2 separate regions of the Homo sapiens genome follow, and region 2 is linked to region 1. Evidence: promoter capture Hi-C in human tissues and cell types (Jung and others, 2019). All regions are on one chromosome and are shown on one strand. The core of a region is centred on a gene start or on the middle of the fragment in contact, and the rest is flanking DNA. Distances in the headings are between cores, read along the strand shown. Region 1 holds the start of DAAM1 (dishevelled associated activator of morphogenesis 1). Region 2 overlaps PCNX4 (pecanex 4).

What was found. The method cuts DNA at HindIII sites, captures the fragments that hold promoters and counts their contacts. A contact is called where the count stands out against the background at its distance.
Region 2: a contact is called between a fragment that was not itself captured here and the fragment with the promoter of DAAM1 in region 1, in 1 of the 25 tissues and cell types used here (spleen).

What each region holds. Positions count from the first base shown.
Region 1 is chr14:59,186,926-59,190,526 of GRCh38, forward strand. DAAM1 (dishevelled associated activator of morphogenesis 1) reads left to right here and starts at 1,742. Exons shown (of 25, transcript NM_001270520.2): 1 at 1,742-1,843. RefSeq lists enhancers at 1,245-1,484, 2,265-3,024, 2,735-2,894, 3,325-3,374 and silencers at 1,955-2,094, 2,155-2,374. The HindIII fragment of the contact is 8,246 bases long and covers 1-3,601 here.
Region 2 is chr14:60,142,785-60,146,385 of GRCh38, forward strand. It overlaps PCNX4 (pecanex 4), which reads left to right. Exons shown (of 11, transcript NM_001330177.2): 11 at 1-3,601. DHRS7 (dehydrogenase/reductase 7) reads right to left here. Exons shown (of 7, transcript NM_016029.4): 7 at 1,335-2,229. The coding sequence ends at 2,182. Among named protein-coding and RNA genes, the nearest start is that of DHRS7, 21 kb to the right of the region's middle. The HindIII fragment of the contact is 4,222 bases long and covers 1-3,601 here.

The DNA.
Region 1 (3,601 bases), core at 492-2,991:
ATCATCCCAGGTCAAGTTTCTCTCTGAATATTTTTCCACCATGAACTGCGTTACATTAAGTCTACCCATTAGTTAGAATATCAGTGATTATATCCTTGATCTGATGGCCAGGGGAAAATTTATATTGTCAGAGTTCATTTTAGATAATATTTGAAATGGAAGAAGTAGCTGAGGACAGAAGAGCAACATTCAAAGCTATCTTCTTTCGGGGGAGAAAAGTGGGTCTTGTCTATAAAGAACAGGCTTGTTAAAAGAACATCAGAATTCATCGCTAAACATCTCTCTGAGCAAAACAAAGCATTTCCTCTCCCCTGAGATCCTCAACTAATTTCATAAATATTTTTTCACTTGAACCCAACTTAGTGTTGCAGAATGAAAGGAGAAAATAAATGATAAGAGTTCCACCAACACTTCAGTAGGGAGTTGTCTGAAATCTTAATTGTGAACCTTTTTTTCACAAGATGCACAGTCTTCTAGAGATTTTGCTAGTGGAACGGGTGTGTGAGCTGATCATTATATGGAATTGAGACACATCAAATGCCATTAAAATTTACATTTACAACTCGAGTAACTAAATGCATTGATTCTTTTCATATTAAAAGACACTTGGTATTCACTGAATAATGAAAAATGCCACGGAAAAAATTATGTATTAACAATACAACCTGCCTAAAGGGTCAGAATTCTGCTACACACCTTTTGCTTACCTTTAAATAAATATTTAGGTGTGTTAAGAGCAGGGCAATTCTTGAACGGCACGATGTTGTTTGGTTTAATGTCTTTATAAAAATATTTGAAAAGGTATGGAAAATGAGGTGAGAGTGTTGTGGATTTAAAAACATGTGTATACATAGATACACAATTATTAAAACTTTAGACAAGGACGTTTTCTTCCTGGGAGTGGAGAGCCACCAGCGCGGGAAGTCTGCTGCAGGGATGAACAAAAGCATGGCTGCACGATAGTATTATCTTTGCAGCAGCAGCAGGCGCCCTGACGGAGGGTTGCGGCGACTGTCTAGTCTATCACACCGCACTTCTGGTAGTGACAACCTCCGTTATTCTGTCAGCTCAGCCGACTAAGTGGTTCCCCGCGTTCTGCCTGGTCACCTTGTCTCCGTTAAACGGGAAGCAGAAAAGAGAAAGGTGAATTGAGGGGGTACAAGGAGATTCCTCCGCCTTGGGACCGGCGTCGCCCCATCCTCTGGAAGTGTTGAGCGGGGAGAATTCGAGGACCGTATTTAACCCAGAAAACAGTAAGCCCTCTGAATTAGCTGCTACGCCTGGGGAAGGCAGAAAAGTCTTAATCGTCCCTTCCCAGCAGGGACCAAGAAAGACCAGTTAGAGCGAGCCTGGCCGGACCACGCGAGCCCCGGACCTCTCCGATCCTTCAGAGCCCGCGCCGGGCAAAGTAGAGGTCAAGTCAACACACACGACCGCAGGGCAGCCCTCCCACTCTCCCGTGCGGTCCGCAGCTCGGCTTCGGAACGACCACCGCTAACACTGCAAGGCTGTAAGGCTGGGAGGGGGCGGGTCCTGAAGGGGGCGGGAATAAGAGGCGGGGCAGAAGGGCGGAGGAGTGTGTCGGGAGATGTAGTTCCGCGAGTCCCGACAGCAAAGCTGTCCCGGCTCCGCTAATAGATTGGGACCACTACTCCCAGGAGTCTGCGCGCCCGACCGGAGCGTCCATGCGCAGTGGGAGCCACTTTGTATCCTATCAGGCGAGGAGAGGGTGATGTCACCTGCGAGTTAGTAACCTACGAGCGGCTGTGAAGGAAACTGTTTAACCGGATCCCATTGTACCCAGAGTGCAGAGCCGCCTTTCCAGCATGCAGGGGCTGCTCAGGTAAGGGGGACGCTCCTCCTTGCCCGCCGCACTCATTCATTAAGTGGCACTGCTCAGTGGTGCGGGGGTGGGCGTGCTTCCGTGGGCTGGGCGCTGGGTTCGCGGCGCGCCCTCCTGCTGCCTCCCCGGAGCTCCCGGGCCAGTAGGTAAATATTAAACCCGTCCTTCAGGTTGGGTCTGGGTGGGAACGGGACCGAGACAGCTCTCGGCTGCCTAGCTGGGGGTGGGAAAATGGCTGCAGCGCAACGCAAACCGAGGCAGCAGGGAGGAAGACGCCCCCAAGGACTGGGGTCCCTCCCTTTCTTTCTAAGGCGCCCGGCTGGCCGAGGAGCTGGCGGGGTAACACTCGCCGCCTTGCTGAAGGCTCCCCGGGGCTGGGGCCGCGGGTACTGCAGCGGCGTCCGCGAGCTCCCGGCCCGGCGGCTCCGAGAGGGAGAACCCCGAGGCAGGCTTGGTGGACACGGCGGTGGCGACAGGGAAGGAGGGACTCGTGTACCCGTTCGCGTCCGAGCAGAGCCCCCAGTGCCCCTGGCACCCTCACTTCCAGCCCCATTCGAAAGGGACGGAGCGCCTGTAATTCAGACTAAGTTGGACCTAAATGTTTCAAAACAGAGAGAAGGGAAATCGGGCGTTGCGGAGGGAGAGCAGGGTGTTGGCGGCCGGGGAGGCTGCGCCGCCTGCGGACCCGGTTGTGAGGCACCGCAGAGGGCTTTTGCCGCCCGTCCCTCTCGGGAGGGCGCATCTCAGTCTCCACGGTCCCTTGGTGTAGAGCACCTGGGCTGGGGCGAAGCGCCTGCCCTGAAGCCCTGGGCCAGGAGGTGGTAGCGCGGGGGTGGAGGTGTCGGATAATCTAATGATTAGGCTCGCTGTGGGGCAGGAGGGCTGGATAATCGGGTTTACCCAGCTGGTTCTGAAAGCCAACTGCTTGTGATCGGCTTGCCCTCTGAGTGGAGACGTGCAGGAGGCCCAGAGCTCTCAGTCCTCTGGATGTTCTTTGCCTTTCCTAGTACCTTCATTTGTTCGTTTACTCATTCATCAAACCCTGCTAAGGTCTCAAGTTGTTCACGGCCTGGCTTTGCGGAGCTACCTCTCGCCCCATAACATATTTAGTGATGCCTGAACTCCATTCCCCTCTCCTTCATCTCCACTTTCTGGAGAGCATCAAGAGCAAATGCCACCGTGACCGTTTTGCTGGTAGTTTCTTGAGATTCGAGCAGGACCCAGTGAATCGAAGCGGAGTTGCCTGCAAGATGAATCCCGTTGCCATGGCGACTCCTGCCTTCGGAATCTTAGCCGCTGCCACTGCTGTTTCGATTCGATGTGGCTCTGCGGGCAGCTGGGAGGGAGTGGCTAGTGGGTGTGGTCAAACGCTCGCCCTGGCCCAGCTGCTCTCTCCTCCTCGCCCCTTTCACAGCCCCGGGACTCTCCCCTTTCTCTCCTAAATAGCTTGGACACAGTTCTAAACCCCTTTCCCTTCCCCGTGCCACACCTCATCACGCCACCTCTCTCCCTGAAACTAATTGTTTGGCGCCTTTTTCCTGAGGCAAACTCTGAAAATTATAATTTGAAAAATCTCTTCCCCCTTTCGGGCTAGCCGCATCATTTCCCCAATAAGGTAGTTTATGGTGTTGGAGGCAGCTTTGTCATGAAAGGCGCCCTCCCCTGTTGTGCATAAAGAGAGCTCTCTGGTCACCAGCAAAGGCCCTCAATTTGCTCTAGGTGCAGCTGATTGGAAGTGATTAGGGACAATTAATAACG
Region 2 (3,601 bases), core at 586-3,085, 960 kb after region 1:
AAACCCCCGTCTCTACTAAAAATACAAAACTTAGCCGGGCATGGTGGTGCACACCTGTAGTCCCAGCTACTTGGGAGGTTGAGGCAGGAGGATCGCTTGAACCCAGGAGGCAGAGATTGCGGTGAACTGAGATAGTGCCACTGTACTCTAGCCTGGGCGACACAGTAAGACTCCATCTCCAAAAGAAAGAAAGAAAGAAAGAAAAAAATGCCATACAGATGAATCTTTAAAGATTTTAATTTATATATACCTCTTCTACCATTCATTGGCTGGAGTAGTTGAACAGACATCAGCAGGCACAATGCTAGGCAGGCACTGGAGATTCAGTGATGAATAAAACAAAACTGACCTGGAACCTGGCCTCCTGAAGCTTCTCTTCATCTGTCTAAATTCCTTTCTTTCAAGGCCCAGTGCAAGTGACACCTTCATCAGGAAGGGCTTCCACATGATTCTATCTGCAAATCTCCCTTTTCTGAACTATTATGCTTATAGTCTGTACCAGGCCACATGACATATGTTATTTTGTGGCATTCTAGAATTATTCCAATCTTTTCATTCTTATAATTGGTGTGTTGTATTCAATAAATAATGTTGTTATTCCAGTTTTCATCACTGGTCACGCAAGAGTCCTCTCTTTATTATATTTTATCCCCATAGTTCACCCCGTTTCCTCCCCATCCTAAGTAACTATTACCATACCTAAATATATATCTAATTAGGTTGTATGTTTTCTTGCAAAATGAGCACTATCTTCTGTGCACATATATTTGTGTATGTGAACAGTATTGTGTTAGCGTTGCTTCTTTATTTCTTCACTTATGACTATGCCTCTAGTACATATCCATGTTGTTATGTATGCATTTATTCCATTGCTTCTACCCGCTATACCTCATCGTGTACCTCTACCACATGTCATCTTCCCCCTTTTCCAAGGACAGCCACTTGGGTGGCTTCCAACTTGCCCAACAACTATTCTACAGTTATTTTATGTATGTTACTTTGGCTCCAGCTCAATTGTGAACTGCTTGTAGATAAGGACCATGTTTTTCTTTACCTGTTACTCCTGCTGATTTCCTATTAGTGCCTGTGCATGTTTTCTGCTGTAAGGTGTTAAATGTTAAAGTAAAATTAATAATAGTAGAAGTAAGGAGTTGCCAGTGGAATCTTCCTGAGCTGAATCTAATCATGGCTTTACCCCTTACTAGCTTTGTGACCTTGACCTTGGAAAAGTAAAACCTTGTTGGTCTTTCTTCATCTATCAAGGTAGGTAATACCATCTATCTTAGTGGGCTGTTATGAGGAATGAGTTAATTAACTAATACTAAGCACTCCAGTACAGTAGAAGACATACAACAGGTGTTTAATGAATAATAGGTGCAATGAATCCTACCTGCTGCTTCAAATTACAGCCATCTGTACCTGTCAACTTTTCTAAGAGTATAAGCATCTTGGAGGTAAGGTCATTTCAAATACTTCTTTATATCTGGTCATTACCCAGCACTCTGCTTTGTGTGAAATATTCTATACATTTATGTTGCTATGGTTTGGATGTTTTTGTCCCCTCCAAAATTCATGTCGAAACTTAATCCCCAAAGCAACAGTATTAAAGGATGTGGCCTTTAAGAGGTGACTGAGTAATGAATGAGATTAAATGCTCTTTTGAAAGCATTTTGCTCCTCTTTCCCTTCTGTCCCTTCCACCATGTGAGGACATACATTCCTCCACTGTGGAGGATGCAGCAATGAGGTGCCATCTTGGAAGCAGAGATCAGCCTTCACCAGACACTAATTCTGCTGGTGCATTGGTCTTGGAATTCCCAGCCTCAAGAGCCAGGAAAAACAGATTTCTGTTGTTTATAAATTACCAAATCTGTGGTATTTTGTTATAGCAGCACAAATGGACTAAGACAAATCTGTTAACTTAGATTTTAAGCATATGTGCTAAAGTATTTTAAAAGGTTATTTTATCCAAGAATATAGTATGAGTTAATACCTTTTTTGCAAGATTCATGGCAATCTTTTATTATTTATTTTTTATTTCATTCCATGTTGGAAGCAAAGTCATATCTATTAAAAAGTAAAATCACAAATTAGTCTTTGATTATTCAGAAGCATAAGAAGATTGCTGTTTTCATGTTTTCCATTTCTCCCTCCAGTGGCTTGAAAAGTACAGGTGCTCTTTTCAGTCATGTTTTGTCTTAAAGATTTTAAAATAAGAAGAGTCTGCATCCTGTAAAAGAGGGACAGAAACATGGATCAGTACCTACTCCTATTTACTCCAGTTTTTAACATTTAAGTCCTTCTGTTTTGAGGAGCTGTATCATTATGATTCACTATTAAGAATCTTTACAAAAGTTCAGAAACTGCTTAAATTAGAATTTAAAAATCATAGCCAAAATTCTAGATGTACACAAAAGTACTTCTAATGAGTTTAGCATCATCTCTGGTTTAGAGGAGGTATAAATAGCATTGGACTGCAATGCTAAATTCTCTATAATGACTTTTCTGGATCAGCATATCATACCTACACTGACTTGCCCTAATAAATAAAAACAATGAGTCAGATTATGTAGAATTGAGATATATGGAAGATAACTCTTTAAAATTATTTGTGGCCAGGCAGGCACTGTGGCTCATGCCTGTAATCCCAGCACTTTGGGAGGCCGAGGTGGGCAGATCACCTGAGGTCAGGAGTTAGAGACCAGCCTGGCAAAACCCCATCTCTACTAAAAATACAAAAATTAGCTGGGTGTGGTGGTGTGCACCTGTAATCCCAGCTACCCGGGAGGCTGAGGCAAGAGAATTGCTTGAATCCAGGAGGCGGAGGTTGCAGTGAGCTGAGACTGCGCCATTGCACTCCAGCCTGGCCAACAAGAGGGAAACTCTGTCTCAAAAAAAATAAAAAGAAAAAAAAATTATTTGTGAACTTTTTGTATATTGCTTAAGGAATAAAACAAGGCAACCTGATAATCCCCAAGATGTGATGTTTCTTTTCAGAAGATATGCATTTACCACTTTCAAAACTTTGCACTAAGAAAGACAAAATAATAATAATGATAATACAAAATTCAGTGTAGCCACTGTTCTTGATCCCTAAAAATAATAAAGATTCATAAAAACAAAGTTCCAGACATACAGACTAAAGAAGCAAATTCTAGTTAACAAGTACTATTAGCTTGAAATAAGCTATGCTAGCATTTTCTTAACTTAGACGCTTATCAATAAGAAAATTTATATATATACATATATATAAAATATAAAATAGTGGGAGAGAGGAAGAGTACAGACTATAAAGAATGAGGTATTATGTCCTAAAAATTGCTTTGAGAAATGACAGAATGCCCAGCTTATAATAAAGAGTGACAAAGTAGTAAGACTATATAATAAGCAATATTTCAAAGATGGTGGTAGGAAGAAAAAGGCTGTCATTTTTTTAGAAAAACCTAGATGTAAAAAAAATGCGAGATTTGCTAAATGATGTTTATATTTTACAGTTAGATATTCTCTAAACAAAACAAAATATCCTTCATATGGACATTTCTGGAAGTACTACTACAGTGGGACTGAAATTCTCTAGTCCCTGGTCCCTCTTTCCCCTTTGA